3 separate regions of the Homo sapiens genome follow, and all the other regions are linked to region 3. Evidence: promoter capture Hi-C in human tissues and cell types (Jung and others, 2019). All regions are on one chromosome and are shown on one strand. Each heading gives the region's core, a stretch centred on a gene start or on the middle of the fragment in contact. The rest is flanking DNA. Distances are from core to core; before and after follow the strand shown.

The links. The method cuts DNA at HindIII sites, captures the fragments that hold promoters and counts their contacts. A contact is called where the count stands out against the background at its distance.
Region 1: a contact is called between the fragment with the promoter of CD209 here and the fragment with the promoter of CAMSAP3 in region 3, in 4 of the 25 tissues and cell types used here (liver, mesenchymal stem cells, psoas muscle and 1 more).
Region 2: a contact is called between a fragment that was not itself captured here and the fragment with the promoter of CAMSAP3 in region 3, in 4 of the 25 tissues and cell types used here (dorsolateral prefrontal cortex, liver, mesendoderm cells and 1 more).

What each region holds. Positions count from the first base shown.
Region 1 is chr19:7,746,145-7,748,844 of GRCh38, reverse strand. It overlaps CD209 (CD209 molecule), which reads left to right and starts at 1,311. Exons shown (of 7, transcript NM_021155.4): 1 at 1,311-1,379; 2 at 1,480-1,539; 3 at 2,314-2,385. The coding sequence starts at 1,334. RefSeq lists an enhancer at 1-243, cis regulatory regions at 463, 998, 1,133, 1,195, 1,204-1,208 and 8 more and promoters at 1-1,315, 869-1,317, 59-1,317, 1-1,317, 1,097-1,333 and 7 more. The HindIII fragment of the contact is 15,961 bases long and covers 1-2,700 here.
Region 2 is chr19:7,414,603-7,417,302 of GRCh38, reverse strand. The region is part of intron 10 of ARHGEF18 (Rho/Rac guanine nucleotide exchange factor 18); the gene reads right to left. Among named protein-coding and RNA genes, the nearest start is that of ARHGEF18-AS1, 21 kb to the right of the region's middle. The HindIII fragment of the contact is 7,415 bases long and covers 1-2,700 here.
Region 3 is chr19:7,594,540-7,597,239 of GRCh38, reverse strand. It overlaps CAMSAP3 (calmodulin regulated spectrin associated protein family member 3), which reads right to left and starts at 1,377. Exons shown (of 17, transcript NM_020902.2): 1 at 1,090-1,377. The coding sequence starts at 1,237. RefSeq lists an enhancer at 1-398 and a silencer at 1,238-1,677. The HindIII fragment of the contact is 16,585 bases long and covers 1-2,700 here.

The DNA.
Region 1 (2,700 bases), core at 62-2,561, 150 kb before region 3:
TTTCCTACCTCATTACCATGTGAAATGTTACCATTAGGAGAAACTGGGTTCACATTAGGGATCCCTAGGTGAGGGATTTACATATGGGAAATCTCTTTCCTACATTTGCAACTTTGCTATAAACCCAAAATTATTCTAAAATTAAAACATTTTAAAAAAGAATACAAAGTAAAGATCAGGTCGAAAACCACTATTTGATTATGATACATGTATGTATTTTCCATCTTTAAACTGAGATTTAACACACATGTGGTAAATGCACATCTCTATGATCAAAATATAGAACATTTCCAGCATACAGAAACCCCGTTGTCAATCTCCACCTGCTCCTTCCTGATAATTCCCATTCTGAGTCTCCTTCAAAGGTTAGTTCTGCCTGTTCTCAAAATTCACACAAAATCAAATCTTACAGTGTGTACTCACTCTGTCTGGGTCCTTTTACTGTTTTGTGAGATTTATCTATGTTATTAAATGTACTAGTACTTTGCTTTTTCATTGCTGTATAGTATTCCAATCTTTGAATATGCCATTATATTTTTTATCATTCACCTGCTGGTGGACACGGGGTTGTTCCAATTTCAGATCATTCTAAATAAAGCTGCTATGGATCTTTTCTTTCCTCTTTGATACTATTTCACTCTTTGGTTAACAGCATGCACTGTGGAGGCAGACTGGGTTCAAGTCTCAGCCCCACCATCTACCAGCTGTGTGACCTTGGGCCAGTTAGCTAAACTTGCAGTGCCTCCTCAGTTTCCTCATCTGTATAATGGAGGTCATATGATCTACTGAAGGGTAGGAACATTAAATGAATGAGTTTATAAAGCTGTTGGAAAAGTACCTGACTACCCTAGGCATTAAATAAACAAGCAATTATGATTCTGCCCCAACTCCCAAAGTCAGCAGGAATTCCCAAAAATGAGGACAGCAGCAGCTCAAAGCAGGAAAGCCAGGAGGTCACAGGGGACAGTGCTTCCAGGAACTGGGGGTGCTACCTGCCTACCCTTGCCCTAGTGGAGGGGGTGTAACACAGTAGCTTTCTCTTACAATTTATCAGATTTCATTAAAAGCATCCCACTGCTCAGCCATCCATGAGTGGATGAGTCCTTCTCCCTGTCAACCCCAGACCATCCCCCACTGCCTCCCTGAAATTCTTGAAAGATCCGGCCCATCTCATGCTCTGATGCTTTCCACTAGTCTTTTGGATGACAGATCCCTACCCAACTTCCTGTTTCTCTTTCTGTGGGAGACTAGATTTAGGAAGTAAAGATCACAGGGTGGGAAATAAAAGCTGTGGCCCCCAGGAGTTCTGGACACTGGGGGAGAGTGGGGTGACATGAGTGACTCCAAGGAACCAAGACTGCAGCAGCTGGGCCTCCTGGGTGAGGCTGGGTTGGGACGCTGGGATTCTGGGAAGGGGGAAGGGATGGCCAGCCATGGCCTCAGCCTGCCCAGGCTCTGATTTCACGTCTATCCATTCAGAGGAGGAACAGCTGAGAGGCCTTGGATTCCGACAGACTCGAGGATACAAGAGCTTAGCAGGTAGAGAGGACTTAGCAGTTTGGGAGGAGAGACGAGAGACTCCTGGACTCCTGGGTCCTGAGGAGCTGGACGCTGGGGCCTGGACTCTTGGGTCCTGGGGATGTGGGGCTAGGGGCCTGGACTCCTGGGACCTGAGGAGGTTGAGTTTGGGGCCTGAATTCCTGGTTCCTGGGAAGGTGGAGGCTGGGGCCAAGACTCCTGGGTTCTGGGGAGGTAGAAGTTGAAGCCTGGGTTCCTGGGTCCTGGGGAGGTGGGGTCAGGGGCCTAGACTCCTGGGTCCTGGAGAGGTGGGGGCCTGGGCCTGGACTCCTGGGTCATGGGGAGGTGGGGACTTGGGCCTGGGTTCCTGGGACCTGGGGATGTAGGGGCTGGGACCCAGATTCTTGGGTCTTGGGGAGGTGGGAGCAGGTACCTGGGTTACTGGGACCTGGGGAAGGGGAGGCTGGGTCCTGGGTCCCTGGGTCCTGGGGAGGTGGGAGCTGGGGGCCTGGGTTCCAGGGACCTGGGAATGTAGAGGCTGGGGCCTGGATTCCTGGGTCCTGGGGAGGTGGAAGCAGGTACCTGGTTCCTGGGACCTGGGGAAGGGGAGGCTGGGGACGGGGTCCCTGGGTCCTGGGGAGGTTAGAGCTAGGGCCTGGATTCCCAGGTGTTGGAGTGGAGGGGGCTGGGGCTGGGGTTCCTGGGTCCTGGGGTGCTGAGGGATTTAGACCAGGCTCTCCCTGGGCCAGGCTCCGGTGGGGACACTGGCAGGCTGACGCATGTATCCTCTCTCAGGGTGTCTTGGCCATGGTCCCCTGGTGCTGCAACTCCTCTCCTTCACGCTCTTGGCTGGGCTCCTTGTCCAAGGTCAGGGGCAGGTTCTGAGGGTCTGGGGTCCCCACGCCTGGCTTTTGGCTGTGGACACAGCCTGGGGCTGCCAGATCTGGGAGGGAGGTGGGACTGAGAGCCAAGATGTTGTCCCTGGGGGTCTGTAGGGGCCTCTCCCACAGCCCCTCCCCACTCTAGGGCAGGACAGGAGAGGGAGGAGGAGGAGGACAGGAAGAATCTGGCTCTCCTTGGCCTTCTGTGCTGCCTTCTCCAGGTGTCAGTTTTCTTCATCTTCAAAGGGGATTAACCAAGACCTTGGCTCTCACAAATGATGTCCCTATGGGGCTCAGTTCA
Region 2 (2,700 bases), core at 96-2,595, 180 kb after region 3:
TGCTAGAATTACAGGTGGTAAGCCATCTTGTCTGACCTGCCCACCTTCTCAGTGAAGCCCCAGAGGCCACCTTGTTTAAAATATCATCCAGGCCAGGTGTAGTGGTTCACACCTGTAATCCCAGCACTTTGGGTGGTGGCTGAGGCGGGTGGATCACTTGAGGTCAGGAGTTCGAGACCAGCCTGACCAACATAGTGAAACCCTGTCTCTACCACAAATACAAAAATTACGCAGGTGTGGTGGTGCGTGCCTGTAATCCCAGCTACTTGGGAGGCTGAGGCAGGAGAATCGCTTGAACCTGGGAGGCAAAGGCTGCAGTGAGCCGAGATGGTGCCACTGCACTCCAGAATGGGCAACAGTGTGAGACTCCATCTCAAAAAACAACAACAACAACAAAAACAGCCGGGCATGGTGGCTCACGCCTGTAATCCCAACACTTTGGGAGGCTGAGGCGAGCGGATCATGAGGTCAGGAGATCGAGACCATCCTGGCTAACACAGTGAAACCCCGTTTCCACTTAAAAATACAAAAAATTAGCTGGGCGTGGTGGCGGGCACCTGTAGTCCCAGCTACTCGGGAGGCTGAGGCAGGAGAATGGTGTGAACCCGGGAGGCAGAGTTTGCAGTGAGCCAAGATCGTGCCACTGCACTCCAGGCTTGGCAGCAGAGCAAGACTCTGTCTCAAAAAAAAAAAAAAACCCAAATAAAATATCATCCACCCCAAAACACACACACACACACACACACACACACACACACACACACACACACACGAATTTTCTCCGTGAGGCACATCACAGCCTCCTTGCACTCAGGGGCACTTGCTGGCACTGCAGCACTACGTTTGAAGGTCATTTTATTTTCTAAAAAATTTATTATTATATTGTTATTTTAGAGATGAGGTCTCTGCTGCCCAGGCTGGACTGCAGTGGCGTGATCGTAGCTCACTGCAGCCTCGAACTCCTGGGCTCAAGGAATCAAGGGATCCTCCTGCCTCAGCCTCCCAAGTAGCTGAGACCACAGGTGTGTGACACCATGCCTGGCTAATTAAAAAAAATTTTTTTTTTAGAGATAGGGTCTTGCTATGTTGCCCAGGCTGGCTGGTCTCAAACTCCTGGGCTCAACTAATCCTCCTGCCTAGGCCTCCCAGTGTGCTGAGATTATAGGCATGAGCCTCCTCGCCCAGCTAGGGGTCATTTTCAACATTAACATCACCAACAAGAAGCACACAAATGCGAAAACCGTGGTACTCCATAGACCTTCAACAGGGCATGTGTTTACAGTGTGAGAGGCTGAACGAGAAGGTGGAGTGTCGCCTCGCTCAGCCTCAGCTGGGAACCTGTGTGGGAACTCCAAGTTTTCTCCACTCTGCACCAATATGAATGGATTCATGTTGCGGTTACAGAGAAATTTTAGCAAGCGGGTGAAAATTAAACAAAGAATTACCATCCGATCCAGCAATTCTACTCCTGGGTATATCTTCAAAAGGGTAAACACTGACTCTGCAAATCCCAAGGCTCAACTGTAGTTTTGTTTATTTAGAAGGGAAACTCCAGGAGCTGCGGGTCTCTGTGGTCATGGCTGGCACGAGGCCTGTCATGTGGTGGGTGGGTGCTTAACAAATACGCGCTTCAGGGAGGGAGGGAGAGGACGTCTGGGAGGGACCTGGTCTGGACCGGTCAGAGAAAGGAAAGGGCAGGGTGGAGGGAATGTCTTATTCCAGGAGGTTCTGCCATGGGCCTTGGGGGCCCTTGGAGAGTCACTTTGTCATTGAACCTGAAGCCACGGAAAGGTTTATGTGGAGGATTGGATGAGCTCTGCTTCTCGAAACGATGGCTGCAGCGTGGGGAGCAGGGCACACTGGAAGGGGTTGCTGGTGGACGCAGGGGGACCGGGACCTCGAGGGCAGGGTGGAGAGTGGCAGAGAGGGGCGGTGCAGGGGCCATGAAGTGGGGGGCAGAGTGGCGGGCTCGGCAGCAGGCAGCCGCTGGCACGGGGTGTTGCGCTCAGGAGGGCGCTCTAAGCAAGGGGTGGACATTTGGGCCTAAGGTGCTACCTGAAGCCCGGGAGAACCCAGGAGTGCCCAGGAGCAGGGTTAGGGAGGTGGTTTAATGGAGCTGCCTGGAGATTCAATGGGATAAGGGATGGAACTAAGGTCCTTGGGTCCAGCTTTGTTGAAAGCGGTCTTGGGAGCAGAATAGCTGAATGGCATGCGTGGTTTTTATTTTGGGGGAGGGGAGAACACAGTTGTATCATAATCACTGGCTCAAACTAGTATTATTTTATTTATTTATTTACTTATTTATTTTGAGATGGAATTTTACTCTGTGGCCCAGGCTGGAGTGCAGTGGCACGATCTCGGGTCACTGCAACCTCTGCTTTCTGGGTTCAAATGATCCTCTTGCCTCAGCCACCCGAGTAGCTGGGATTACAGGCACCTGCCCCCACACCCGGCTAATTTTTGTATTTTTATTGTTTTTGTTTTTTTCTTTTTTTTTGAGACAGAGTCTCGCAGTCGCCAGGCTGGAGTGCAATGGCGCGATCTCAGCTCACTGCAACCTCCACCTCCCGGGTTCAAGCGATTCTCCTGCCTCAGCCTCCAGAGTAGCTGGGATCACAGGCACGCACCACCATGCCCAGCTAATTTTTGTATTTTTAGTAGAGACGGGGTTTCACCATCTTGGCCAGGATGGTCTCGATC
Region 3 (2,700 bases), core at 128-2,627:
GGCGGAACCAGGAGACGGACAGCTGTCACTGAGACCCACACCCAGAACAGGTTGATCTGGGAAGGCCAGGGAGAGGGGGGATGGGCTGTGCCAACACCAGTGGGCAGAACCAGTGGGAGAAAAGGATGTACCCCCACAGCTCCCCGCTGGAAAGCCCAGACCTTAATTAACCCCTGTCTTCTCTGGCCAGGCCCTGACTCCTAGCTCTGGCCTGGGGTTGTGAAGCTGCCCAAAGCCGAGACTGAGTGTTTCCAGGGCCTCTAATCCCGGGGACCCGGGATTACGGCATCCTCCCCATTAGGGTGGCTCGGGCTCTCAGGCAAGCGGGCCTGGGGGAGGGAGTGAAGGATCTGCTCTAATGGGAGAAGGCCCCGCAGCCGGGAGGAGCGGGGGGCCCACCCCAGGCGATCTTGTACTACCCATTTCCCTTCAGCTGGGCTCGCCAACCTCCCCAGTAAAATGGGGCCATAAGTCGCAGCTGCCAGGCGCTGGAGGGGGCTATGGAGGCGAAAGGGGGTTCCCAGAGCTCCCCGGTCGCCGCCCGCAGCGCGGCCAGGGCCGACGCGGGGTGTGTGTTGGGGCCTGGGGGTCGTGCGGTGGTGGAGACCGGAGCGCTCGAGACCCCCCAGCGAGGTCGGGGTCTGGGTCTCCAGGGTGTGTGGCGGGGGAAGAGACCGAGAGGAGATCCTCGCAGGGGCGTGATGTGTGTAAAAGAGAAGAAGGCGTGCAAGGGAAGGCCTTGGGGGTGCGGGAGGCGGGAACGAGAGGTCCGCACGGGGAGACCCCACCCGGCCCGCAGACCCCGCCCGGCTCACCTGGAGGCTTGGACGCCGGGGACCCCCGCGCGGAGCTGGGCCGCGGGCCCCACCCCCACCGCGCTCCCGCAGCCGGCGGGGCAAAGTCCACCGCCCGGGCCGAGCAGGAAGCTCGGAGGCCCCGGCGCGGCAGGGGCCCGAGCCCGGGGACCCCCGGCGGCCGGCGCTATTGTTCCCACGGCCCCCTGCCTTCCCGGCCCGGCGCCCCGCCCCCCCCCAGCACCTGCCGCGCCCGGCCCGCCGCCCCCGACCCCGGTCCCCCGAGCCCCGGTACCTGCGCCCCCGAACGCGGCCCGCAGCACCCACGCCAGGCTGGCCGCCGCCTTGGCCCGCGAGAAATCGTACTGGTCCAGCGACTTGATCTCGGGCACTAGAAAGGTCCTCCGCAGCGGCCCGGGCCCGGGGGGCGCCGCCTCCACCATGGCGGCGCCGGGGCTGCGGGCGCCGGGTCCGCGCTCGGACTGGGCTGGGCTGGGCTGCGCCGCGCTCGCGCCCCAGCCGGGCCCGCTGCTGCTACCGCCGCTGCCGCCGCCGCCGCCGCCGCCGCTGCTGAGCCAGGTGCGGCCGCTTGCGCTGGCGACGCTGCGTCGGGCCCGCCCCGGGGAGGAGCCCAGGTGCGCCCCGCCCCCGAACCCGGACCCGGACCCTGGCGCGCCCCTGCGCCCCGCCCGGGCCCCTCACTGCAGTGTGCACGGAGCAGCAGGGGCGGGGCGGAGGGGGGCGGCCTGGACTGCGGCGATGGTGGAGGGAGCTTGCGGAGGACTGAGTGTGTATGTGTGCGCGCGCGCGTGTGTGAGTGTGTGCGCGCGCGCCTAGCTTACTGGAAAGGATTAGGGACCCTCTGTGTGTGCCAGCCCCAGTGTCTACCCTTAGGCGTAGGAGCTCCTGCAAGTGCTTGCAATAAACGCCGGCCCTCAGGCAGAGAGTGGTTGGGTGCACCTGTTTCTGATTATGTTAGTGAAGGCACAAGAATATGAGTGTCTTCGTATCTGTGTATCTCTGAATACATTTGGGTGGTGACCAAGTGTATTGGGGGGTGTCTAGGGGTGTGTGTGTGTGGGGTATGTATCTGGGCACGTGTAAGTGTGTGTTTAATTTGTTGTGTGTACAAGGATATGTATTATATAGATGTCTGTATCCTGAGGATGGATGGAAGTGATGAGTGTGTGTCTGTTTTTTGTTTTTGTTTTTGTTTTTGTTTTTGAGACAGGGTCTCACTCACTCTGTCTCCCAGGCTGGAGTGCAGTGGCGCGATCTCGACTCACTGCAACCTCCGCCTCCCAGGCTCAAGCGATTCTCCTGCCTCAGCCTCCCGAGTAGCTGGGATTACGGGGTTGCGCCACCACTCCCGGCTAATTTTTGTATTTTTAGTAGAGTTGGGGTTTCACCATGTTAGCCAGGCTAGTCTCAAACTCCTGACCTCAGGTGATCACCCGCCTCAGCCTCCCAAAGTGCTGGGATTACAGGCGGCAGCCACCGTGCCCGGCTGTGTGTGTGTTTTTGGAGTGCTGTGAGTATGTCTATCTCTGTGCATCTGAACGTACTGGTGTGTTGTATGAGGCTGTTATTGATGCCTCTGTCAATGCAGGAGTATGGAGAGACATTGAGAGTGTGTGTATTTCAGGCCGAGAGCGGTGGCCACGAGTGTAATCCCAGCACTTTGGGAGGCCAAGGCGGGCAGATCACTTGAGGCCAGGAGTTCAAGAGTAGCCTGGCCAACATAGCAAAACCCCGTCTCTACTAAAAATAAAATTTTTAAAAATTAGCCGGGCATAATGGTGCATGCCTGTAATCCCAAGTACTCGGGAGGCTGAGGCGGGAGAATCGCTTGAACCAGGGAGGCAGAAGCTGAGATAGTGCCACTGCACTCCAGCTTGGCCAACAG